6 separate regions of the Homo sapiens genome follow, and regions 1, 2, 4, 5 and 6 are each linked to region 3. The links are contacts of gene promoters, found by promoter capture Hi-C in blood cells and fetal thymus (Javierre and others, 2016). All regions are on one chromosome and are shown on one strand. The core of a region is centred on a gene start or on the middle of the fragment in contact, and the rest is flanking DNA. Distances in the headings are between cores, read along the strand shown. Region 1 has its middle 31 kb from the start of LINC02272. Region 2 has its middle 96 kb from the start of LINC02272. Region 3 holds the start of PDGFC (platelet derived growth factor C). Region 4 has its middle 150 kb from the start of LINC02272. Region 5 has its middle 73 kb from the start of LINC02272. Region 6 has its middle 54 kb from the start of LINC02272.

The links. Contacts are between HindIII fragments. The CHiCAGO score rates a contact against its expected background, and 5 or more counts as called.
Region 1: a contact is called between a fragment that was not itself captured here and the fragment with the promoter of PDGFC in region 3, in 1 of 17 cell types (M2 macrophages). The highest score is 5.6, in M2 macrophages.
Region 2: a fragment that was not itself captured here is called in contact with the fragment with the promoter of PDGFC in region 3 in 2 of 17 cell types (M1 macrophages and megakaryocytes); the score reaches 5.3 in M1 macrophages.
Region 4: a fragment that was not itself captured here is called in contact with the fragment with the promoter of PDGFC in region 3 in 3 of 17 cell types (M1 macrophages, M0 macrophages and M2 macrophages); the score reaches 6.2 in M1 macrophages.
Region 5: a fragment that was not itself captured here is called in contact with the fragment with the promoter of PDGFC in region 3 in 1 of 17 cell types (megakaryocytes); the score reaches 6.4 in megakaryocytes.
Region 6: a contact is called between a fragment that was not itself captured here and the fragment with the promoter of PDGFC in region 3, in 3 of 17 cell types (M0 macrophages, M2 macrophages and megakaryocytes). The highest score is 7.5, in M0 macrophages.

The regions. Positions count from the first base shown.
Region 1 is chr4:156,609,431-156,613,647 of GRCh38, forward strand. No RefSeq gene overlaps it. Among named protein-coding and RNA genes, the nearest start is that of LINC02272, 31 kb to the right of the region's middle. The HindIII fragment of the contact is 863 bases long and covers 2,446-3,308 here.
Region 2 is chr4:156,543,704-156,548,391 of GRCh38, forward strand. No RefSeq gene overlaps it. Among named protein-coding and RNA genes, the nearest start is that of LINC02272, 96 kb to the right of the region's middle. The HindIII fragment of the contact is 1,571 bases long and covers 997-2,567 here.
Region 3 is chr4:156,969,620-156,973,712 of GRCh38, forward strand. PDGFC (platelet derived growth factor C) reads right to left here and starts at 2,180. Exons shown (of 6, transcript NM_016205.3): 1 at 1,167-2,180. The coding sequence starts at 1,284. RefSeq lists an enhancer at 1,967-2,467. The HindIII fragment of the contact is 8,294 bases long and covers 1-4,093 here.
Region 4 is chr4:156,489,307-156,493,955 of GRCh38, forward strand. No RefSeq gene overlaps it. Among named protein-coding and RNA genes, the nearest start is that of LINC02272, 150 kb to the right of the region's middle. The HindIII fragment of the contact is 7,171 bases long and covers 1-4,649 here.
Region 5 is chr4:156,566,968-156,571,250 of GRCh38, forward strand. No RefSeq gene overlaps it. Among named protein-coding and RNA genes, the nearest start is that of LINC02272, 73 kb to the right of the region's middle. The HindIII fragment of the contact is 178 bases long and covers 1,199-1,376 here.
Region 6 is chr4:156,586,045-156,590,527 of GRCh38, forward strand. No RefSeq gene overlaps it. Among named protein-coding and RNA genes, the nearest start is that of LINC02272, 54 kb to the right of the region's middle. The HindIII fragment of the contact is 1,013 bases long and covers 1,333-2,345 here.

The DNA.
Region 1 (4,217 bases), core at 1,627-4,126, 360 kb before region 3:
TACTCTCTCTGTCTCTTTTCCTTTGCTTGCTTTAATGAAACAAAGTGCCATATTGTGAGCTGCCAAATGGGTAGGCTCACTTAGCAAAGAACCAAGGGTGGCTCCTGGCCAACAGCCAGCGAGGAACTGAAACTTTCAGTCCAACAGTTGAGAAAGAATTGAATCCTGTCAGTAAACCCATGAGCAAGGTTGGAGGTGGATCCTTTCCCAGTGGAGCTTTGAGATAACTGCAGCCCCTATCAACACCTTTGTTTCAGCCTTATGAGACCATGAGCCACAGGCACCAGCCTAAGCCACAGCCAGATTCCTGACCCACAGACACTGTGAGCTAAGAAATGTTTTAAGCCACCACATTTGGGTTTGATTTGTGGTTTGGTAACAGATAACCAATACTAAATGAAAAGATTATCTATTGAGAGTTGTTTTTTTTTTTTTTTTTTTTTTTTGTTGTTGTTGTTTGCATTAATGAAGGCCTTCAGTAGCATGCTTAATGAAAAATAAGAAGGCTTTGTTTGGCTTTGCTTTTACTGAATGTTGAGTCAGTTTGAGGAACTCTGAATACTGCCATGGTGTAGTGTGGCTGAAATGGTAGAAGAAACTCATGGGGAGGAGGAGCCTCTGGGGCGAGGTACTTGCCATTGGAAAAGAAACTTTGGGGCAAGAGAAGAAATGCTTATAGGTGATTTGAGGGAAAGATAGTCCAGTAGGCAGTGTGAAATATCTCTTTTCCTCTCTGTGAAACATTTAGTAAACTGTACATTCTTCTTTAAAACATTTGGAGTTAAATTTGACTTAGAGAGAAAGTGAGATACTAAGACCTGCTTAGAGCAGCTCACAACTACTGAACTCAGGTTAAAATAAACTAAGAACCTCCCTTTCATTAGTGAGAGATGATTAAATAAACAAGATGCCTAGTAAGTTCAAGTGGGAAAGAAAAATAAATCAAAGGTATCCTTTGAAAAATAAAGTGCATGCATTGGTCATGACAATGTAATCAGGAGCATTTTAGTAGCCAAAGGAAGGAGGTAAATTAATTTGTACTTTCAAAAGGAGTTATGAGGAATGGCATATTTTAGAGAACAAGCTGCTACCATTTTAAAAGGGCAGGTCATCTGTATAACTCATCCAGTTTTTTAATGGGATTACCTCAGAAAAATAAAAGGAAGATGGCAAATACTCTCTGGATAACATAGAGACAGTAATATGAATTATAAATCGTTTCTTCATATATTTATTCACAATAAGATCCTATAATTGCTAATGGACTCAAGAGAACATCTAGTTTATTTCTTACTGTCTTGGATAAGAATATCCAATTAACTCTGGTAGTTATCTTTTAAAACCCCACATATCTCTGAAAGGTCATTTTACTATTCTCTATTAGCAAATTTCAGTACCAAGTATATCTGACAAAATACTCAAAATAATTTTTTTATCATCTTTCCCCTTCATAATTGAATATCCTACTAGGCAAGACCTGAAATTGATCCTAGAACTGATAACTTTCCCAGAAGAGCCTACTGGTGCTTCTTTGCTATTTGCGATGCTGTACATCTCTCCTTGAACTTAAATATCTCCTTCATTTTAACACTCCTCCTACCTAATTTCTAGTTAATTTCATTTTCTCTGCTCATCAGCAGCTTTCATTCTGCCATTGACACTTATATATACATATATATTTTTAGATTTGTTATTGCTGGGTCTTCATACCAATAGCCAAATGGAGCATTGTGGAATGACTTGAGGATCAATTTCAGCTGCATATAATTTATACATTATATTATTATAGTTATAGTTATAATAATATACTTTCTGGTTCCTATATACTTTAGAGTTAAAGCATAGAAAAATTAGACTAATGCTATTATTTGGTGTCTCTAGCAGTGCTGCTATAGTTTTTATGCAGCAAGCCTAAAAACATAAGCCAGTGGTTGTTCACAATATTTAGAACTATCAAATGTTAGAAAGGGTTCCAGAAACTGAAAGTCTGAAATAGAAGGTTCTATGTGTCTTATATAGAACAATCTTAAAAAAGCAAGTTCGTGAGTGGAAAAGTGACTTCAGAAATGCTTGATTGAGATTCTTAATTATAGCTCCACTATGCAACTTAACATGCCCAAATTTCAACCTGTTTTAAAGAGAACTCCCATTTTAAGATGAAATTTTCCTCTTAAATTCGTAGCTACTCTCAGTGGACTACAAATTCCTGAAGCTTAAAACTTCAGAGCTGACTTTGATTTATTTTAATCTTCTGTGCCTTGTAATCAATATAACATTAATTCTTGATAATTCATATTTTGATATATATTTTAGGTGCTTACTTCTCCTCCTACTGCCACCCAACCCTTACCAAGTCATTCATTAGCATTTTTCCATTAATTCATTTTGCTGTCTCCATTCTTATCCTCTTTATGATCATTTCGTTTGGACCCTTTCTTGGGTTTAAGCTTCCTAAGACATTCTTTCATTAGGCTAATCTGCTGGAAAGTTGGAGTAACTTTTGATTTTTTCATTCCCCTCTTTCTTGACAAATCCAGTTAGTTGTTAAGCTCCATCAATTGTAATTTATACATGAACACCTTTTACCAAGTCATTAGGTTTCGATTTCACACCACACAGCACTCTCAGATCAGTCTTTTCAACTACAGTTATAATAATGTAATTTTTCAGCTAATGAACATTTAGTGTATCCCAACATCTGATGTATACAGTGCTTATGCAAAGGAGATGAGGGTCTGAACTTATCTTTTAGTGTATACCTTTCACTGCTCCCCATGTAGACTGGAAACTCTACTCAAAACTCTTATTTTTTTCCAACTTTTTCATCTCAGCACTTTTTGCTTGGCTATTTTTTTCTCCTGGAATGAGCTTCCTTCTAATCTGGGATCTACTTTATTTTTTAATGTCTAGAAAATGTCACCCTTCGTAAAGTGTCTTACTGTCATCTTTAAAACTTTTTTTCTGAAGTTCCATAAACTTTATTTTTACCATGATATTTTATCTTCTATTATAAATATTTGTGATTAAGTTTTATCTTCCTTATAAGCTCTTAGTTGTTAAGGTTTCTGTATATTTTAATCTGCCCTCTTTTCATAACGCTTATCATAACACCTTAAACATTACAGATACAAGATATGACTTTTTGAATGAATATTTCATAATGCTTCTCCACTGCCAATAAAGTTATTTCGTTATTTGTAATCTCAAGTCACCTCCTCAACTTTACCTTTTACTCTTCTAGAGAGGTCTTTGCTACAATTAATAAGGTCTACTTGTTCCCTGTGTTCTCCACTCTTAGTCTTACCTAAAGCTTTGCATGAAACATATGTAAAGCACTAGCTTTACATCCTATCTTGTCTCTAGAAGCATTTAATAAGTGGTGGTTAAGAGGAGGATTCCTGGCAGTAAGAAACCTGATAGGGTCAATCTCAAGCCTGCTGCCTGGGAACTGGCTAACAAGTAGGTAATCTCCCCAAATCTTATCATCTCCTTTGTTAAAAGGGGAAATTAATAGTATCCACATTATAAAGGAAAATCATGTAGCACAGTGGTTGGCACATAAAAATAGTAGATACATGTTAACTATTCTCCTGATTCTTCTCTTCCTCCTCATCTCCTTTTTTACTCTTAAAGAGAAAGAATTGAAAAAATATTGATTAGTACTATCTTCCAAGCACTATTTTATCACTAAGCCTACAAACATAAATAAGTTCTAGTTCCTGCCCTCATTCCCACTTTTCTTTTTTAAAAGTTTTATTTTGTTTTTATTGGCACACAATAATTGTAGATATTTATGGGGTACAGTGTGATGTTTCAATAAATGATAACATTGTATAATGATCAAATCAGGATAATTAGCATATCTATCACCTCAAATATTTATTATTTCTTTGGGGTAAGAGCATTCAAAATCCTCTCTTTCAGGAATTTTGAAGTATACAATACATTATTGTTAACTACAGTCACTCTATTTTGCAATAGAACAACAGAACTCATTCCTTCTGTCTAATTGCAACTTTGTACCCATTAACCAAACTCTTCCACTACCCCCACAACACAGCCTCTGGTAACCATTTTTCTATTCTATGATACCCACTTCTATGATATCCACTTTGAAAAATTCTTTTTCTACCTCTATGATATCCACTTTGAAAAATTCCATGTATGAATGAAATCATCACACATTGAGGCCTGTCGTGGGGTGGGGGGAGGGGGGA
Region 2 (4,688 bases), core at 532-3,031, 430 kb before region 3:
ATAACTGCCACACAAAAAAGAAAACAGAGGAAGAGAAGTAAAAATACCAAGGGAAAGCAAGGTATTGCAGTTTCATTAAGGGTGTTCAGTGAAGGCCTTAAATGAGATAGCATTTGTGCAGACATCTAAGGAGGTGAAGGAGTAAGGCATGTGTATATCTGGAAAGGAGTATTTCAAACTGTGAGAACAGAAAAGACTTAAGGGAGGCACATGCTTAGCGTGTGCAAGGAACAGAAAAAAAAAACAACTGAAGGGTAGGGATAAATGGGGTACAGCAATCAAGGGGAGAGTACAGGACAATAAAACCAGAGAAGTACCAGCAGAAGGACCCTAGAGGTCATGGTACAGACTGGGATTTTACTTTGAATGAGACAGAATGTCTTGAAAAATATTGTAGAATACCTCTGCCTTTAGGGTGCCAAAAAGATCATAGGGAGCATGAGTAGAAGCAGAAAAACAGGTTAAAAGATTTCAGTTTAGGTACAGATAACGGTGGCCTAGAATGGGGTTGTTTATGCTAGCTTTTGTGTACACTTCCAAAACCAAACAAGCAAATCATGGAGAGCTGAGAAGAGTGGATGAATTATATATGAGTTGTGACAGAAAGAGAGGAGTCAAGGATGACTCCAAAAGTTTATGGCTTGAGAAAATGGAAAAATGAATTTGCAATATTATGGATGAAATCGAATTGTAGGAAATTTTAAACTTCAGAAATATTAAGTTTGTGAAGGCTATTAAGCATTCAAATGAGAATGTCAAAGAGGGAGTTGGATTCAAGAAGCTTCTTCACTAAACTCCTCTTTTCTTTCCAAAATTAAGCTCATGTATCTTAATGCAAAATTATAATATGTGACTGATGAGACTAAGCTTTGTTCAATGAAAGCCCATATTTCAATAGCTGTTATTAGAATATTATATGTTAAACTGTGTTTATAATTGAAATGTCTTCAGTTTTCCATTTTAGGAAAGGGTTTTCTAACAGAAGTTGGTTGCGTAAGCTTTTGAGGCAAACTCTTTTCTGAAAGCCAAAATATCATCTAAAACCATCTCTATGAACTGGATCTTCATATTAATCCTCTTCACAGATAGAGAATTTACGTTGTGTTACTGAATGCCAGATGTAAGGCTGGCACACTTTCCCTGTCAACAATGATTATTGTCATTTAATTCGGTATTTATTCTGAGACTTGCTCTGTGAGCAGTTCTCACAGGGAAAACTCTTAATGTCACAGACCTACTGCTCTGGTGTTATACACTTCCTGAAAATTCACATAGGTCTGGGCCCTGTGTTTCCTTCCTAATCCCCTTATGCTAGGCTAAGAGAGTATTTTCCAGAAACTGTTTATAAGGTCTGTAACTTCTGTGCCTGTGTTTCTCAAACTTATGTTTCTTGGAGTGCCTTTGTTTTAATTGGAGACCATTTTAGGGCTTGAGCAACTTCTCTTAGAGCTACTTGCTGCTGTGGTTTGTCTTACATTTGTAGGCTTGCTGTCAGCCAAGATGTCAGAACTAGTGGTCCCAAGGCAATATGCTGCTGAAACATTCTCCCACTTTCTTGTTTACAAATCTTCTCCTTCCACTTGACACAGTGCAGTTATGTGTTTCTCATGGTTTTGTTCATGTTTCTTATATGAATGACCTGGTTGGCATAGCTGCTTTCAATAAAATAGAGTAGTCTACATGAGACACCCAACGTCAGACTGGCTTGCTACTTTAATTCCCATTGCAGCCATCAAAATGAAAACATGTCTGTCGGCCAGAGGAAATCAACAAACATACAATAGGAAAGCAAAATATTTTCTCTACTATTTTCTCTTCACTTGGAAATAGAAAAGGAGGTTATAACTTGCTAATCTCTGTGGCTCTGTTGTAACAACTGAATCACTCTCTGGGGAGACACAGACTCCTGTTGGAGAAACACTGTGATAATCAATGGTTTAAATGTCCTTAGCTGACTGAAATGAAGAACAATCAGCCATTCCAACTTTGCTGTTTCCTGAAGGTTCCTTGCTTCTCAATCCTTAATGCTTTTGCAGTTGAAGTTATCCCTAATGGTTCATCCTTCCCTTTCACCTCTCTACTTCCTTCTTTTTGATCAAGCATCAGCTGAATTCTCATCTACTCTGGGACATTTGTCTTACTGCTCTGCTTCAATCTGACATGCTGTGTATTGAATAACCTGACCCTGAGAAAGTCTGCTACACATATGCCTTCATCTACACTTCCTGTGCACAGATTCTTGTCAGTCATGGTCAAATTCTGGACCATGTGGCTATAATATGCTTTTATTTTTTCAACCCAGCCATACAATTAGACCAGGGGTATGCACAAGGCTCAAAGGCAGCCAAAACATCAGTTTTACAAGGATCCTTGATGTTCCAATGAATGTGAAATGTTAAATGGGACTATCAGACTCTTCTCTACAATTTTTAATAAAAGAAATACAGAGAGGTGAGGTGATTGACAAAGCTCACTCAAGAAGTACTTTATGTTATAAAAAAAGACCCAGAAGGGCCTTGATGGACCATGATAAGACAAAGTTTTGAAAAAGCAGAAATAAGAGAAGAAGCTTATTTGCAGATAGAGAAGAGAGTGGACTTGATGTACAGAAAGAACCAAAAACAGTCCAGGTGCAGTGGCTTATGCCTGTACTCCCAGTAATTTGGGAGGCCGAGGCTAGAGGATCACTTGAGTCTAGGACTTCAAGACCAGATGGGCCAACATGGCAAAACCCCATCTCTATGAAAACTGCAAAAATTAGCTCGCTGTGGTGTCGTGTGCCTGTAGTTTTAGCTACTCAGGAGGCTGAGGTGGGAGGATCACCTGAGCCTGGGGAGGTGAAGGCTGCAGTGAACCATGATTTTGTCACTGCACTCCAGCCTGGGTGACAAAGTGAGACTCTGTCTCAAAAATAATAATAATAAAAAAAACTAAACAGAGCTCACTGTGGAGAGATGGAGATAGATGGGGCAGCCAAGTCCAATTCCAATTCCAGGAGATGTGATTGACAGTAAGTGGCAGTTGCTTGAGATAGCTAGGACAAGGCACTCTTCTTTACGTGCAAATGCCTATCAAGAGTTCCATGAATATCTCCTTTGTACACTCATCCTGCTCCATCTCTAACTTAGTTGTCAGTGTCTTTCAGAAGACTGTTACTGTTGTGAGAAAGAGATCTCAGTCATTCTGACTTAATCTATATATCTAACAGGCTCTCAATAAACATTTGGCCACTGTACCAGGGCTAGCGCAAAAATGTCATGGCAAGCTAGAACTTTCAAATCTATCTGTCTTCATTGACAGACTTTTAAGACTTTTCAGAATAAGAAAAGCATTGACTGAATGCTAAGAATATTCCTACTCTAAAGCATTGTGTTATGTCTAGCTCATGCTAGAATTTAAGGCCTCCCTTTCTCTATCTATTAGACCTAATTAATTACCAAATCTGATTCTTTCTCTGACTCTAAATACCTGTCTCATTTCCTTCCCACTACCGGACCTCACAGTACTTCCCTTAATTCAGGCCACTATTTTCATCCAGATCAGTTACCACTATCTTCTCACATGTCTTCCGGCCTCAGTTGTGACCCCCTCAAGTTAATTTTTTCATTCTGCCACCAGAAGATTCTTAAACACAAGTCTGATCATTGCACTCCAGTACATAAAATCTTGCAAGGCCAATCCCCCTTGTTTGTAGGATAAAATACAAATTCCTTTATACAGCAGACAAGGTCCTTCATGACCTGACACTCGTCCTCTTCAGCATCATTTCTTTTCATTATTATTTCTTTCCCTCTGCCTTTCTCTGTTCCAGCCCAACTAGCTCTTTTGGTTCCTTGAATATATCATGTTTTTCTCAACTCTGAAACCTCAAGCATGCTATTTCCTTGGCCTGGAACTCTGTCTGCCACAAACTCCAATGTCCTTAAAACACACATATTTCATCTGAGTCAGGCTGAGTCATCCTTCAGTATAAGCTCAGATACTTCTTCCTCAAGTGTTTCAATTACTACCTTATTCAGTCCCAAATTGAAGCTGGGTTTTGCTTCTGCACGCTTCTAAAAACCTTCTTGTATTTATAATATTATATTTGGCTGTAATACTCACTTTTTATATTATAAACTCATTATAAATAGGAACTCTATATAATGTCTAACCATGTTATCTGTAGCATCTAATGCAAAGCAAAGACACATAGTGGGCAATCATTAAATACTTTTTTAATTGAATGAAGTAGAACACCAGGATTCATTTGTACAGAGAGCAAGATAGGTATACATGCTGGCATATGACAGAATGATAAATAGACAAGCGTTAAGAATCTGGAGTTTTTGTGAGACAGGAAGCATAGTAAGATTTCTCTGTGTGTTTCCCTCCAGGAGTGATTCAGAGCAGGAGGATAGGAAAGGAGGATCCTATCTATTCTAAAAGACTGCCCCCAGTTCAGGATTACTTCACTCAGTCTATGGGCTAGTAAATAGATTGCATTTAAAGTAGGACTTTGTAATGTTTCGACAAATACAGAGAAATCCAAATGAAGAAAAGACAGAATGGTTTCTACTGGTATTGGAAAGGCTTATTTTCACTACTACATTTGTCCAAACCCTACAGATTAGTGATTAACTGAGAAATTAGTTTTGTCCTTCTTGTGTTCTAGAATAAGGTGAATAAACAATCACAAATAAAGTTTT
Region 3 (4,093 bases), core at 930-3,429:
AAAAGGAAAAAAAATCACTCTGACTTAAAACTATAGCACATCCTATCTTAATTTTGTAGGTATGCCACTTGTGTTCATTTTGCATGGTTAATCAAGTGACAGAATCCTTGCATTCTGAATAGATGATATACAAAGCAGTAAAAACATGTATATTCCTTTTCAAATTACAGTAAGAGCCACCATTTGTAAACAGGGCGTTAAATATTCCAATTTTAGACAGCCTAACATGAACATTGTGGTTTCATGTGCAGTATAAAATTTCTATTTACAAAGTATTCTCAAAAATGACTTCATAATGGTAGATGAAGAGAAAAAGAGTTTAGAAATTGAATGATGTAAATCATATGGGTTCAGAGGCTAAGCAAATTACACACCCTGAAGCTGCCCTGGCTTTATGAAAGGAGCCTTTCTCCAGCTCTGTGCAATCCCAGCCCAAGGGAACTTGCATCTGAGAGTTTTCTAAACATTTCAGGTACACTTGAAAGCTGAAAGTAATTCTCATTTCCTATGCAGGATTAAGTCGTTTCCAGCACACACAAAATAGCAGTCATTCACCAACACATACAAAAACACACCACCAGAAAGGTAAGGACTTCAGAGTACAAAGGCAAGTTTAAAAAACAAAAACTAGGGAGCAAGAGAAATACACTTTTTAATTCCTCTAAAAACGACCACACAGCCTCTTGACCTCTATATTTCCTATCTACTCATTGATTAATTGATGACTTCGACCTAGAGTGCTTCAATTAATGCGGCTGATATATTTCCTGACCGACCCCCCTCGCCCTCCCCAAATCTGAGTAAAGTCAAACATGCCAAGGCTCATTCATTTTGGATTCGTTTTTAGAGGCAGTTCTTGAACTTCTAACTTTAGCAATGAGCGAACCTGCAATGTGCATTTGAAATGACGTTCACAATCGCTCCCAGAATGTCCTCACTCAGCAGTGGCACTCACGTTGCCCTCTTGGAGCTTTGTGGCAGCTCCCGAAGTTGCAAACTACACTTAACCTTTAACAGTCCATGCCAATGAACGCAGCGCACATTTGCATGTAATGAGAGACCAAAGATACCTTCACAGTCTGGTATATATCACATACCAACGCACAATGCCAACGTTAACACACACAGCGAGAAACAAGCAGGGGGAGAATGGGGGAAAGACTCACCGTTCTGTTCCTTGTTGCTGGAAAACTGGAATTTACTACTCAGGTTGGATTCCGCCTGAGTCCCCTGTCTCTGGCCGGCCAGGGCAGATGTCAGCAGGAGAAGCCCGAAGAGGCTCATTTGGCTGACTGGGGTGAGAGCTCACTCACGGCGGGCACTTTGGAAGCAGCGACTCCCGAGTCTCTTTCACCACCGCCAGGGGAAGGCTGCACTGGGGTGGAAGCGCCGAGCCTGCTCTGGCAGCAGAGAATCGCAGGGTAGTTTCCACATAATCCCATCCAAAACTTTTTCCTAGAGCCCTCTTCTGTGTCTCCAGTTTTTGAAAAGGATCAAAGCAAAACCTGGACCTGAACCAGTTTCCCAAGGTTTAAACAAATCCTGAGCTGTGGCGAAGTGGTGGGGGTGGGGGTGAAGGCGAGGGAGGAATGAGGGGGTGGGGACGCGGGGGAGCGGCGAGAAGTCCCCAGCAAGTTGCTGGGAGCACCTGTCAGTTCGGGGGACAGGACAGAGGCGAAAACTCAAGGGTTGCCCGCAGCCAGACTGGAAGCCAAGTCGGCGGCGAGCAGTTTCTGATCAATAACAAAGCTGCCAATAGATGCGGCTCTCCGGGCGCCCCTCTCCCCCGCCCCACCCCCCACCCCCGAAGGGGGAGGGGGAAGAAACAAGGCGAGGGCGCCGCGGCGGGTCCCACGGGCCGGGGCGCCGGAGCGGGGCCGGGGGGCTCCGGGCCGACGGCGGCCCGGGCGCAGGCGGAGAGAGGCCGCGGGGCTCCCGCTCCTCAGCCCGGAGCGCAGTTGGCCCCGGGTTCGGAGCGCCGCAGCACGGATTCCGGCACCTGGCTTGAGTTTTCCGCGACCAAAGTTCACCTTGTTCGGGCTCGTCCCCCGCTCCTCAAAGCCTGGGGCAATTCGGCCGCTCGGGGTCACCGCGGGGCTCCGGTTGTTCCCCGTCCCCTCCCCCCACGCCTCGGGCTCCGCGCTAACCTCGGGGCTACGCGCGGCGTCTCCGCACGGGGTGAAGAGGGAAGGCCGGGGCGGCCGGGAGGATCCGGCTTGTCCCCTCCCCTTCTCTACCTTCCCCCCGCCGGGCGGCAGACAGGAGGTGGGGGCCGTGGGCCGAGCCCGGGCGGAGCGCGCGCCTGGCGAGCGGGGGCGGCTCAGCGGCTCTCCCGCAGGCGGCCGATGGGGCGGGCGGGGGTCAGCGCCTCTGGGAGGGGCAGCCCTGGGACGCGTCCGCGCGAGCGGGCTTGGCCGCCCACTGGCTGTCAACAGGTGCTGCGCAGACAGGGGGTGCTGCGGGACTCGCTGTGGGCAAGACCCCGGTGGCCCAGGAGAGGAACGCGGCCAAGGCGGCCCCTGCTTTCCCTTCCACGGAACACCTCTAACCCCAAATACAGAGCACGATGGGTGGTGAAGGGTGCTGCAGAAGTAAGTGGGAAAGAACTTCCTGCAGCTCTCCTTCTCCCGCCCCCTGTCGCCTGACTTGTCATTAGTTTCCAGGAGGGCTCCCCACTCCCTAAGGTCTTTGCTAGGACCCTTGGCCAGAGTTTCAGAACAGAAGGAAGAAGGGAAATGAATTCAAAGGCTTTCCTCCAATTTCCAGCTCCGTAAAGCAGGACAAATAAAGCAAAAGTAAAGGCAGCCAAAATAACATCCATTTAACAAGTACTATATTTACTGAATGCCTACTATGTCGGGCACTGTTTAGAGGTTGGAGCCGTAGCAGTGAAAACAGACAAAAGTCCCTGCCCTCGTGAAGCATACGTAGTAGTTGGGCAGCATTAAGCTAATAGCAAGCTCTTCTGAGAATGGTGTCTAAGGGACTCAGAATGATCCTGCAACCTTGGACTTTCCTACAATACAGCCTCTAACAAAACTAGGCTGCCCTGAACCCCTGGTGATAGAATTGTTTACATTTACACCAAAAAGGTCGAGAAAGAACTGAAATCTCTTGTGGCTTGTGTTCAGGCTGACTTGGAGAGAGAGGCCGATGCTTTAAGACCTAAAGTTCTCATGAGGTAGTCTGAAATGAAACACACATGCCAAGCAGGGCTTATGGTGGTTCCATGTCTGCTAAATATGTCTGTGACAGGATCCAACGTGCTTTCTTTGTGGAGAAGCAGAAAATCATTGTCAATGTGTTAAAGGCACAAGCAGAGAGTCAGAAAAGTTGAATTTTAAAATGAAGCTATTTTTGAGTAATAATCAAAATGAAAACAAGGAAGTGCCATGGCAGGCAAATCAGCAATATCACCCAACTTCTTGTGGAAAAAAAGTCAATGCAAACAATTCGACCATCAAGAACACTTGGGCTGGAACAGAAAACCAAAATAGCAATGTCCCTGAAACTAAGGAGTGGCATTTGGGCAAGAACATATTCTTACTGGACCAAACCAGGGGCTGATCCTTCTTCAGTGGTGAGGAAAATGCCAAGCCCTCTTCTTATATGCGAACACCAACTGGGGCCAACCAACCAGACCTTTCTGCTTGGAATATCCTAGTCTTCTTGTTTTTCCCTTTTAGAAACCTTTGAAAACTTCACCCATCTGTCTCATTCTTGAAAATTTCACCCGCCTGTCTCATTCATTCATTCTTATCCCTTTACCACTTCTATCTACAGAGTACTAAATATACACTAAAGGCAAATAAGGCCTGATCTTTGACTTTAAGGCATTTACAGTTTAGTGGACAGAAGGTTTTTTATCAAGTATGGTATTTTATTCGAGTTAGCAGCTCCACAACACCAGTGTGACTCCATATTTGCATAATGTGTTCCAAAAATATTTTGTAAATTTGTGAGGGTGAAGGGTTATTCCCAATTTTAATAACATAATGGGACTTAAATAAAGGGCATGCCTTATGAATCCATTGTAATCTATTTTTCATAAAATTCATTATTCTCCAGTTTTTCTAATTTTGTAAGTTTAGTT
Region 4 (4,649 bases), core at 723-3,222, 480 kb before region 3:
CGTTTAGAGAGTTATGCAAAATAAATGCATTTGACATTCCTAATTCACTGCTCATGAGAGGCAAGAAGTTTAGTGACTCTATATATAATACCTTTGACCATATGTGGAGAACCAAGGAACATAAAGAAGCTGGTTGGTTGCTCCTACGTTCAGTGGACAAAGTGATGAAAGAAAATGATAAACTCGGTGCTTCTATCTCCCGGCTTCAGAAGCAGATACTGAGCCTTAAATCTGCTAAGATTGCCCTGAGTGAGAGTCTTATCTCCTGTAGAGAAAGAGTCAATATTGTGAAAAAACAGACACAAGCTCTTATCATGCCAGTGGCTGACCTGCAATGAAAGGTGCATGCACAGCCTTGCCAGCTGTCTACTGTTAAAGTGAGGGCATTGATTGGAAAATAATGAGACCCTGCAACTGGGAATGGGGATGTGTGGAAGGACCTTGATGAAGCTGGGGACACTGAGTTTGTAAACTCCGATGAACCTTTTTCCCAGAAGAAACAGCTTCCCATCCCCAGTAATGGCTACATCCCCTCGCAATCCATGCTGCCATCAGCTTTTCCACCTTTGTCTGAGATGATAAATCCTGCGCTGCCTGAGGCAACAGTGATGGCCTCCCCTGAGGCAGGTGCCTGGCAAGATAATGTTGATTCTCCTCAGAAGCCACCCACAACAACCCTGTTTGCTTCTAGACCTATAACTGGACTAAAGTCCCAGCGGGCCCCTAAAGGTGAGGTTAAGAGTGTGACCTAAGAGGAGGAAAGGAATTGCTTGAGCTTTCTAAGTTATATAAACAGAAATCTGGAGAAAAGGCATGGGAATAGATATTAAGGGTGTGGGATGATGGTGGAAGGAACATAGAGTTGGATCAGGCTGAATTTATTGATTTTTACCCACTAAGTAGGGATACTGCATTTAATGTTGCACCTCAGGGAGTTAAAAAAGGTTTTAATAGTTTATGTGCTTGGTTAGCTGAAATATGGATTAAAAGATGACCTACTGAGTGGGATAGAAATGCCTGATCTCCCTTGGTTTAATGTAGAGGAAGGGATCAAAATGCTTAGGGAGATTGGGATGGTGGAGTGGATTAGTCACTTTAGATCTATTCACCCCATCTGGGAAGATACAGAAGATATACCTTTTTCCAATGTCTTGTGAAATAGATTTGTGAGGGCAGCACCTGCATCTTTGAAGAGCCCTGTAATTGGTCTTCTCTGTATGTCAGATCTAACAGTGGGAATTGCAGTCACTCAACTACAAAATTTAAATACAATGGAAATAATTGGATCCCAAGGTGGCAGGGGCCAAGTGGTGGCACTCAACCATCACAGGCAAGGTGAGCATAGCTACCATACTGGACAGCAGAAGCAAAGCAGCAATCAGAATAGTCTGACTGGTGTGGAGCTCCGGCATTGGCTAATTAGTCACGGTGCTCCTAGATGTGAAATTGATAGGAAGCCTACTGCATTCCTACTTAATTTATATAAGCAGAAAACTTCTAGATCAAATAGACAAAAGACTCATTTGAATTATAAAAGCAGAGAATCACAGCCCCTCAGTCAATTTCCAGATTTAAGCCAGTTTATAGACCCAGCACCCCTTGAATGAATGGGAGGCTGGGTCCCCTTGAGGAAGCACCCTACTACACTACTGACAATTTATGCTGTTAACCTTTCTCCCATCCTTCCCCAAGGAGACCTCTGGCCTTTTACCAAGGTAACTGTGCATTGGGGAAAGGGAAATAATCAGATGCTTCGGGGACTACTTGACACTGGCTCTGAGTTAATGTGGATTCCAGGGGACCTAAAACGTCATTATGGTCCTCCAGTTAAAGTAGGGGCTTATGGAGGTCAGATAATTAATGGAGTTTTAGCTCAAGTCCAACTTACAGTGGGTCCATTGGGTCCCCAGACTCATCCTGTGGTCATTTCTCCAGTGCCAGAATGCATAATTGGCATAGATATACTTAGCAGCTGGCAGAACCCCCACATTGGCATCCTGACTGGTAGGATGAGGATTATTATGGTGGGAAAGGCCAAATGGAAGCCATTAGAGGTGCCTCTACCTAGAAAAATGTAAGTCAAAAACAATATCACAACCCTGTAGGTATTGCGGAGATAAGTACCACCATCAAGGACTTGAAAGACGCAGGGGTGGTGATTCCACACCACACCTGTGTTCAACTCTCCCATTTGGCCTGTGCAGAAGACAGATGGATCTTGGAAAATGACAGTGGATTATCGTAAGTTTAACCAAGTGGTGACTCCAATTGTAGCTGCTGTACCAGATGTGGTTTCATTGCTTGAGCAAATTAACACATCTCCTGGTACCTGGTATGCAGTCACTGACTTGGCAAATGCCTTTTCCTCCATTCCTTATGTGACATAAGATTTATTGACTTCACATCAGCATTTAAGTATCGTTAACTTTATGTAATAGTATTTGGGTTGGGGATTGGTGCATTTCTGGTTGTAGGAAGGATAGTTGTATTATGTTAGGTGTAATTATAAACCTTATTATTGTCTTTATTTGAAGATTATGTATGATCTCAGGAAATGTATATGGATTCAAGTTGATGAAAGGTGGACTCATGATGGTTAATACTGAGTGTCAACTTGATTGAACTGAAGAATGCAAAGTATTGATCCTGGGTGTGTCTGTGAGGGTGTTGCCAAAGAAGATTAACATTTGAGTCAGTTGACTGGGAAAGCCAGACCCACCCTTAATCTGGATGGTTACCATCTAATCAGCTACCAGTGAATATAAAGCGGGCATAAAAACATGAAGTGACGAGATGGGCCTAGCCTCCCAGCCTACATCTTTCTCTCATGCTGGATGCTTCCTGCTCTCGAACAGCAGACTGCAAGTTCTTCAGTTTTGGGACCCAGACTGGCTCTCCTTGCTCCTCAGCTTGCACACAGCCTATTGTGGGACCTTGTGATCATGTGAGTTAATACTTAGTAAACTATTAAGTTTCTTACTTCTGTCCCTCTAGATAATCCTAATACACAGTGGTTTACCTTTTCTTGAGTTACACTATTCCAAATTCTTTACTTTTCTCTCTACTATTAATGTGCTGGATCTTTTATTTTTATTTCAATTTTTTTTTTGTTTTGTTTTTGGAAATGAAGGAGCTTCATTCAAAAGAGTAAATAAATCATTTTAAAAATCCATTATTAGAATCTGTTACTGTGTGATAGGAATTGAAATCAAATTGTATAGCTTAGTTATTAAGATATCTCACTAACCAAATTTCATATTTTAATTTTCTTTATTTAATACATATATAACTTTTGAAAGGTAAGTTTTATTGTATTATTATTATTTATTATACATTCTTTTTAGAAATATAGTTCTCTAGGCAAAATATTTCTAAGGAGTATATTGTAATATTCTTTTGGACTAGAGAAAGCATCTATTCCCAAACCAGACTCTGGTTTAGTCTCTCCTTTACTCCCGTCCATGTCCTGTGTGCCCTTGGGAAAGTCACTTAAGGATTCTGTACTTCTATTTCCTCATCTGTAAAATCAGAATAATTTAAAAATCACCAACATCACAGAGTTATTATAAAGACCAATTGAGTTGTATGTACAGAAAACAATAAGCACTCAACAAATTCTAGTGGTTATATTTTTTTTTAGTTTCCACAAAACATAGAAAAACCAAACTCAGTATATTGTATTGGAAAGATGTTAATGACACATTACATTTGATTTATGTTTTTGCTTGTAACAAATAGATGGGCTTTTATGTTTTGATATATTTGATATATATATGTTTGATATATTTAATATATGAAAACATAAAATAATTTTATGTTTGAAGGATGGCAAGTGGCTCAGAAAGGCTATGAAGTTTGCATCTTAGGAGAATGGCGGAAATCAACAGATGAGGGAGATTTGAATGTGATATCCTAAGAAGTTTGGAATTTTGAACTCAAAAAGAGAGTCACACTTACAGACTAAGAAAAAAAAAGGATTATATGATTAAATTTACACTTGAAAAATCAGACGATTGGCAATGGAGGCACTGTAATATAGAATAATGATATCTGTGTAGCAAGCATAATAACAGGAATCTGAGAATAGTGTCTTAAATGTTAAACAACACTAAAGTAAATCATTCTAGGAAATATCTCTCTTTAGTAACAATTATTTACCTAAAGTCATCAAGATGTTCTCCCAGTTAGTAAAAATCATGTCCAAATTTCCACTGAAAAATCTGCAGAATTGAGGCAGCAAATCTCTAAAGTGACCCTCAGAACAATTAATAGAAATCAAAAGCAAAGTTCACCAAAATATTCCATTGAAATTGCATATATTAATAGCAAAGATATACAAAAATGTTTATTCAAATTGAAATTTTTAAATAGATTATGTTGGTTTCCAAGGGGACTCTTGACAGTCATTAATTCCAAGTAGCACTTAACTTCATCTTCTTCACACATAAACACAAGTACTATCTGTAATAAGCAGGCACATGTTGAAAATAGACAGTCTTCACTGAGTGAATATCTAAATGACCTGTAAAAAGAATTATCTTTCCATTCTATCTCAGATTATGCACTATTATAAAAAGGTGTGGTCACACACATCTGATCTCTCAAGGCTACGAGGATACATTATGTCCTACATTTAACATTATTACTGT
Region 5 (4,283 bases), core at 38-2,537, 400 kb before region 3:
GCACATACGAAAGTCCAAGCCTCACAATTTAGAGACAAGCCCTGAACTTTCATCTCTAGTTCTTACATGTGAAATTTACCAAATACTGTAATCAATGTGTTTTACATGTGAGTAAATTATCTCCTAAGATATTCAATTTATACATTGAAGATCAATTTATTCAGCTATCCAATATTTTAACCATTAATTTTAAGCATGAAAAATGCATAGGGAGTATATGCTTTGACAATACAAAAAGCAGTAATACAAAAAAAATTGCTTACTCAAAAGATTTCTCAGGAATCAAAGTAAAATAAACTCTAAAAATTCTTCAAATTTTCAAAATTGGAGAGGTAGCTTTGCTTTATATATTTAAAGGCCTACCAAAATCGTTATTTGAAAATATGATTTTTTTGGGCCAGGCACGGTGGCCCACGCCTGTAATCTCAGCACTTTGGGAGGCCGAGGTGGGCGGATCACCTGAGGTTGGGACTTTGAGACCAGCCTGTTTATTTAAATTATTCAGATGTATACTTTTTACTTCTAATTTTTAACTGAGACAAATTGAGACTCTTTGATACTTTGTATTAAAATAATAGTATAAACTTAATGTTAAATTTCTTACAAATGTGCATTTTATTTAATGTTTGGAATATGTTTATTTTCTATTTAAATATATGTACATTTAGTTTCACTGTAATATTCGATGTCATTCATTCTAAGCCGTTTTTAAAATAATCATTCTAGTATTTTCTAATTGTGTGAAATTAATATCAAAATTGCTCTCTGGTTTATTTTGCATCAGCGTTGCCATCATTTGGCTCGACTTCCCAGGCACTTCCTCATCTGCTACCTTTTCTACCTGAGGCTCTTTCTCCCTCATTTCCAACTTGCACCATTTCTTAATCATCTCAGTTATCGTTCTTGTTTCTGGAGTTCCTTGCTTATTGCCTTCTCCTTTATCTTCTAAAACCTTATCTACCTCTTCTAGTTCTGATGGATTGCCCTCTTCTCTGATGTTCAAAATTAAGTTTAAATTCTACTCTTCAGCACGTGGAAAGCAAGACCCCTGAGGGCGCAGGTTTTAGTCAACTTTCATTCAGTGCCGCTTCTACAGAGTTGAACACTTTCCGGTACATTAAATGCTCTCGGTAAGTATTTCTTGAAGAAATAAATGGAACTGACAATAAGTTCTCCTGCTAATGTGATAAGTATTTCAAGCTTCTTTCGTTTACTTCTCCAAATATGTCACAAATTCCTCTGAATGCATGCCAACAGTTAACAAGTTTGGATCTGCAAGCCTGGCTCTTTTTCCTCTAAGCTCTAGTCCTGCAAATTGAGCAAACTACCTTCAATGAATGGAATACTCTGAGTCAAGGCACCCTGATGACAAGTTAAGCTTCACATAAGTATGAATAAATTGAGAGAGTAGCACTCTACTTATGCTTAATATCCTCTAAAGCAATGTTGTAAATATTAGTGATATGTACATTAAAATATTAATACAAATATGATCTGGAGAATATATTTTAAGAAATTTATTTGCCTACATAAACTTTGTAATAAGTCTCAAAAGCTTTTACACAATATGTAACTTAAACTAGATGTTAACAAAGTATTATACTTTTGCACCTATAACTAGGTTCCAAGCCCTATTTACATGAATGCTTCTTAGAAACAGTAACCCTTTGACTTTCAGCTCTGATTTTAAGCCCTTCTATTCTGTGCTGTATCCTGTAGCTGCAGAGAGGCCAAGCATACATTACCAGCCGGCTTTTGTCTTCTCTTCTCTTCAGTCATCAGAAGCGTTTAATTACCAGCTTTCTCTAATTATTCCACTTCATTGTACTTGCCCTGCTAATTCCTTGCACCTTGAATCTTCACATCTTCACACTGGAGGGTTTTTCTTCTCAAATTATGATTTTATTTTCTCAAAATACAAAATAAGTGCATGCTCTGTTATTTGTTTTAATTTGACCTCCTTTTAGGAAAAAGTGGAAAAAGATGAAAAAACAGCAATTTCAAAAGTGATTTTCCTACATGTAGAAAATTATCAAGTGGATTTCCTTTAAATCCTAAAAAAATCTTTTTAATAGACAAATTTTATTCCTCTACATGCAACATCATATTCCAACACTTTCTTTCTTGTCTCTGAAGCTTAGACCTATAAAAAATTTTACTTTGAAAATAATTACATAAAATATTAAAGATTACTTACAGGCTAACCTAAGTACCTCAACAACTTTTATTTTTTATCTTGTTTTTTCCTCCCAGCTTTGTTAAAGAAGCCAAAACAAAACAAAACAAACAAACAAACAAACAAACAAAACTAATGTGTTTGGAACCAGGACTTCATTTGCTACTCTGCTGTATCACAATTTTACTATTACATTGTGTCCTTACTTTGCACTATTGGACAATATGCCATCAAAAATAACTGATTTATTGATTGAATATCTAAGAAGCATAAAGATGATATAAATTTTTATATAGAATGACCTATCATAATATCCTTTTTCCATTTGGAGTTACAAAACCAAGTATATGATTTCTTTTGAGGATTTGAAGTACTTTTATCCCATATGCATAATATATAAAAGTTAATTTTGCAAATTTTTGCTTCATAATAATTAGTCATTATGTATCTAAATGATAGCTAGAAATATGTAGAACTTTTAGTGATGATGATTATTTTTTACTTCTCTCTCCCTTCTTCTCTCTCTCTCTCTAACTCTCTGTCTCTGTCATCAAAGCCAAAGTATATCAGTTTTGACATGGCAGCTGTCCGGAGGGATTTGCTCCCAATCATTTTGATCTAACGTTCTTTGTCTATGTGATGACAAAGCAATAGCATGTTTTTCATCAAAGGCAGGAAATGCATTATTCTTTCTTTGATCTCTAAAAAGGATTTTGGGGTAGAAAGGTGAGAAGACAGACCTTAAAACATTTCTTAATGCTCTTATCTAAAACTACACCACTTTAATGAGAAAAGTTAAATGTTTCTGAAAGCACAATTCCAAAACGAATAGGTCCTGATTTTTAAATTAATTTTTAAATCTTTAAATTAAAAAAAAACACAATTTCTCCCCTTTTAGATGGGTATGTATCTCTACACCCCAAACTGGGGATCCTTTACTCACTTTGACATCTGATACTGTATTTTCAGCTTGAAAATAAATGAGATCCTTGAAACTCACTACTATCTCTTAAAAGGTGATACCTTATGTGTCCTTTTCTTCTGTCTTTCCTCTCACTTAGTTTGAAGCCCTGGTTGAACTAGGGATTGTCTGTTCCATTGCCTTCTTGTCTGTTCCATGTCACCTTCAGTTTTCACCATTGCACTCATTTCTTCAGTTAGCTGACTTGAGTTTAGACCACATTTTGCCTTGTACCCAATTAATTTCTTTTTCTTTTTCTTTTTCTTGCCGTGTGTATATGTGGGTGAATGTGTGAGCTTGTGTCTGTGGGTATATCCCTTACCTGGTGAATTCTCACTCTACTTCTCAACTCAGTTTTAAACACTTAAGGTTAGGTGCAACTTTTACTCTATATGTCAAGGAGAAGTTTTGAAAACCACAAAAAAGTTTTAATTCTATAATTCGTTTAATATTTATGTTGTGCAATACACTACAGAAGCCATTATGAAATGGATCATGTATTTCTGGGCAAAACAGTTCCTTCAGGAAAACATGACTTACAAGATGAAACTATAATGCCAGGCAATGGATAGAAAGCATCATATGTGTTCTATAAAGTACCAAGGGGGGTTAGATGAGGAGTAAATATTTTTTTAAATCTTTAAGATAACAAGTAGATCAACAGGTAAGAGAAATATGATGAACAACCTGAAGAGAAGTGAGAGTTTTAAAAATAGGGAGTATTTTTAAATAGCTAAATATATTGCATCTATATGTATAGTATAGCTAATGAGTTAAGTTGAGCAGGTCATGATGTTCCTTGATTGCCAAGCAAAGACTTATAAAGTTGATTAGGCTAGCAAAAGGGAGCTTTATGGTGATGAAAATTGTCACTTATTCAGTTTAGCACTTTGAGGCTTTTGATTTCAGAGTATAAGCGTATGAAGAGCAAAAATATTAGAGGCTAAGAAACCAGATACAAGTGTTACTGGCAGTGAATCCATATGGATCTGCAGCAACCTCAATTCTTGTATCCTCAGAAGAATTCAACCAAGGAGAATAAGGCAGAGAGAGAGAGAGAGAGAGAGAGACCAAGGCAAGTTTTAGAGGAGGAGTGAAAGTTTATTAAAAAGTTTTAGATAGAGCAGGAATGAAATGAAGTAAGTA
Region 6 (4,483 bases), core at 589-3,088, 380 kb before region 3:
AGAAAACATTCCCAACAGACTCTGGTGGAAAAAAAATATATATATACACATATATTTGCTTAAAAAATGAATTATTTGTATTCAAAAGGAGAAGAAACTTTCTTCTGGCATTTTTGGAGGTAATCCTTGATTAATTTTTAAAATTTCTTTTATGACATTACTTAATTATACGTTTTGTTTGTTTTTACTTCTTGAGAAAATTTTAGGTGTATATAGTGACAAGGAAAACCATCAATTTTATCTAATTAGAACTCTTTAGAATAGAGATGAAATCAAATTCTTTTGTACTAATCTAATAATCCTGATTATTTGTAATAAAGCTGTGCTTACAGCACAATGAATCATGTATAAGTGGCAAGTAATGATGGGCGGGAGAAGGCAGAGGATTCACTCCTCTCTTCTCACTCCATACTCTATAAGCAGGCAATCTAGAGTTTTTAACTCCAACCACGGCCCTTATAGATGAGTTCATATACTGCCTAGTAGACATCCGCACATGGAGGACATGAAGGCATCTGAAGATCAAAATAAACGAAAGTGCCTTTACCATCTTTCCTCCAATTTTAGGCCTTCTTTGTCCCCTCTCTCTCCCAGCTTACTAAACCTAAAACCTGGGAGCCACCCTTGACTTCTCCTTCCATATTGTAAAGCCAATCAATTGCAAAATCCTCTTGATTTTGTCTAAATGCAGCCCACTTTCTCCATCTCCACTGACATGACATTAATGATCTCCAACACTTGCCAGGCACTGTGGAAGTAAGTGCTTTATATAGATTATTTTTCTGAATACTTATACCAACATCATCAGGGGGTTATAATGGCTGTCCCGAGGATGTATATTGGAGGATATATATTGGAAAACAGGGTGAGGAAAGATAAACAATCACACAACTAACAGATAACAGGGCTGATTATGAAATCTCACTCCAAATGTTTTAACTACCTTGTGACAAAATACCTCAAACTCTTACCTTGTTACTAGTTCCTTGCTCTACTTCTGTCTCCCTCCAAATTTTTCTCTGGCCTTGAACCAGAAGATTTTTTAAAGTGTAAAATCTTATCTTTTTAATTCTTTAATTATTTTAATTCTCTTTAATTCTTATCTTTAATTCTTGGACACAGGGGTGTCCCATCTTTTGGCTTCCCTGGGCTGCGTTGGAAGAAGAATTGTCTTGGGCCGCACATGAAATATACTAACACTGATAATAGCTAATGAGCTTTTTAAAAACCACAAAAAAATCTCATAAAGTTTTAAGAGAATTTACAAATTTGTGTTGGGCCACATTCAAAGCCATCCTGTGCCACATTGGCCTATGGGCTACAGGTTGGACAAGCTTGGCTTAAAACCTTTCAATAGCTTCTCATTTGTCTTATTCTCATTTTCTTATTCTGTTTTCTTTTCTAATTCATTTTTCTTATTCTATTCTAAAAATCATTAGCAGAGTCTAAAAGTTGCCACCTATTTCTCTTCTCACTCTGAGTAGATATGCCCCTTTCTGTCACAGATTCTTTGCTTTTCCCCTTTAAATAAAACCTCCTTCCCTAAATAAGAGCAACTAATTATAAATCTTTTTTTTAATTCTTCAAATTTCACTAAAAAATCAGTTCTCCAAGAAAGCCTTTCTAACTCAATAGTCTAGGTCTTCTAATAACATTGACTGTTATGACAGCAAATAGATTTTGCCAGGTTATTAAGATAAGATAGAAGCAAGGAAAAATGACTGAATATTTACAACTCTATTGTCTGGGAGAATTAACTCAAGACCCAGATAATGAAAAACTAGTAAACATTTGTTGAGAGGATACTATGTGTCAGCCATGGTACTGCTTTACATATTTTTGTTATACTTCCTCTTAGAATTATGTATGGGTCCTATATAGCACTTATAAAAATTATCATAAACTAATTAACAGTGAGATTTATTAATATTTGTCTTCATTTTTATACCTTAACTCATTAAGGGCTAAGATAGCTTCAGTTCCTTTTCCAGTACATTTTCAAGAATAATGTGTCAAACTAAAATTTGGTTGCTAAGATATAACTGCCAAGTTAAGACATTACTTATGTGCTCAGGGCAACCAATTTAAATACAGTTTTCTAAATCTTACATGTTATTATCTCAATGAGGTTGAAATATTTATCTTGAACCTTTAAAATTCAAAGTTAATAAGTAGAATATTTAATGCAGAAAGTACAGAATACAAGACCTGAAACTATAAAACTCTTAAAAGAAAATACAGGAAAAAGCTCCTTGACATTGACCTTGGCAATGATTTTTTGGCTATGAAACAAAGCATAAGTAATAAAGGCAAAAATAGACAAGTAGGATTAAATCAAGCTAAAAAGCTTATGCACACCACAGGAAACAGTCAACAAAATCCTAACCTATGATACGGAAGATATTTGCAAACCTTGTATCTGATAACAGGCTAATATCTGAAATATATATAAAAATATCCCTACAACTCAGCGCCAAAAAAAAAAAAAAAAAAAAACACCCTGAATCACCCAATTTTAAAAATGGGCAAAGGATCTGAAGAGACATTTTTCAAGAGACAATAAATTGGACAACAGCTGTAGGAAAATATATTCATTATCACTGATCATAATAGAAATAGAAATTAAAACCACAATGAGATATTAATTCATGCCTGTTAAGATGGCTATTATAAAAAAAGATAAGTGTTAGTGATGGGATAGAGGAAAGCGAACCTTAGGACACTGATAGTGGGAAATTAAATTGGTACAAATATTACGGAACACAGAATTTGGATGCCTCAAAAATTTAAAACTGGAACTACCATATTATCCAGGAATATCACTTCTAGGTATACACCCAAAAGAAATGGGAGAGCTGCATTCCCATGTTTATTATAGCATTATTCACAATGGCCAGGATATGAAAGAAGCCAGTTTCCATAACAAATGAATAGTGTTATTGTTTATATATGGCTTGTTTGTTTTTCTCCACCAAATCTCATGGTGAAATGTGATCCCCAGTGCCATTGTGTTGGGGGCGAGACCTAATAGGAGGTATTTGGATCATGGGGGCAGATTCCTCATGAATATATTAACGACTTCTTTTGAGGATGAAGGAGTTCTTGTTCTATTAGTTCCCATGACAGCTGGTTATTTTTTTAAAAGCCTGGCATCTACCCATCTCTCTCTTGCTTCCTCTCACACCAGGTGATCTCTGCACACGCTGGCTCCATTTTGCCTTCCATCATGAGTAGAAGCAGCCCAAGGCCTTCACCACATTTCCTATCTTGAACCTTCCAGCAAGAAGAATCATGAACCAAATAAACTGCTTTTCTTTATAAACTATTCAGCTTCATGTATTCCTTTACAGCAACACTAAATGGACTAAGACAAATTGATAAAGAAAATGTGATATCTATACATCTCTCTGTCTATAAAGATAAGATACCAATTACAATGGAACATTGTTCAGCCATAAAAAGAAGAAAATTCTGGAATTTCAGATGTCATGGATGAATCTGGAGGAAATTATGCAAAGAAAAATAAGCTAGACACAGAAAGACAAATACTATATAATCTCACTTATACGTGGAATCTGAAAAGTTGAACTCGGAAGCAGAGACTGAATGGTAGTTGCCAGGGGCTGGGAGCAGGGAGAAGAGAATTGAAAGAAGGAAACGGGAGATATTGGTCAAAGAGACAAACATTCAGTTATAAGGTGAATAAGTTCTGGAGATCTAATATATATAGCATGGTAACGATCATTAATTATACCATATTGTATACTTGAAATTTGCTGAAAGTAAATCTTAAGGGTTCTCAACAAATACATACAAAAAAAAGATCACCTTACATTACTATGAAAGATGATGGATGTGTTAACTAGCTTGATTTTGGTAATCATTTCACACTGTATATGTATATCAAGTCATGTTATACACCTTAAATATATACCGTTTTGTATGTGGATTACCTCAATAAAGCTGTGGGGTGAGGAAAGATTTGAAAAATATAATATTATAAGCCCTAAAACTTTGAGTAAAGCTTTGAGATTCAAGATTTTCAAGGTCTGAAAAATAATGAATTCCTTTCATTAACATGTAAATTTTAGAATCAGCCTGTTGATTTTCACACACACACACACGCACACACACATACACATTGGAATTGTTTTGAAGCCATAGATCAATTTGAGAAGAACTGACAGATTTAAATATTGTGTTTTCCAGGCCATGAACATGTTATATAGCTCCATTTATTTGTGTCTTCCTTAGTTTTTTTTTTTCAGTAATTGTTCATACTTTTCTATATAGAAGTCATGCACAATTTTTGTAGTTATGTCCTTAGCTGTTCAGCATTTTTTATGGTCTTATAATGCTATTTTTCAATAATTTCTCTTTGTTCATGGCATACACACACACACACACACACACACATAAAATTGATTCTTATGTGTTTACAGTACATCCACTGACCTTTGCTTGATTCATTTATTTAGTCTAA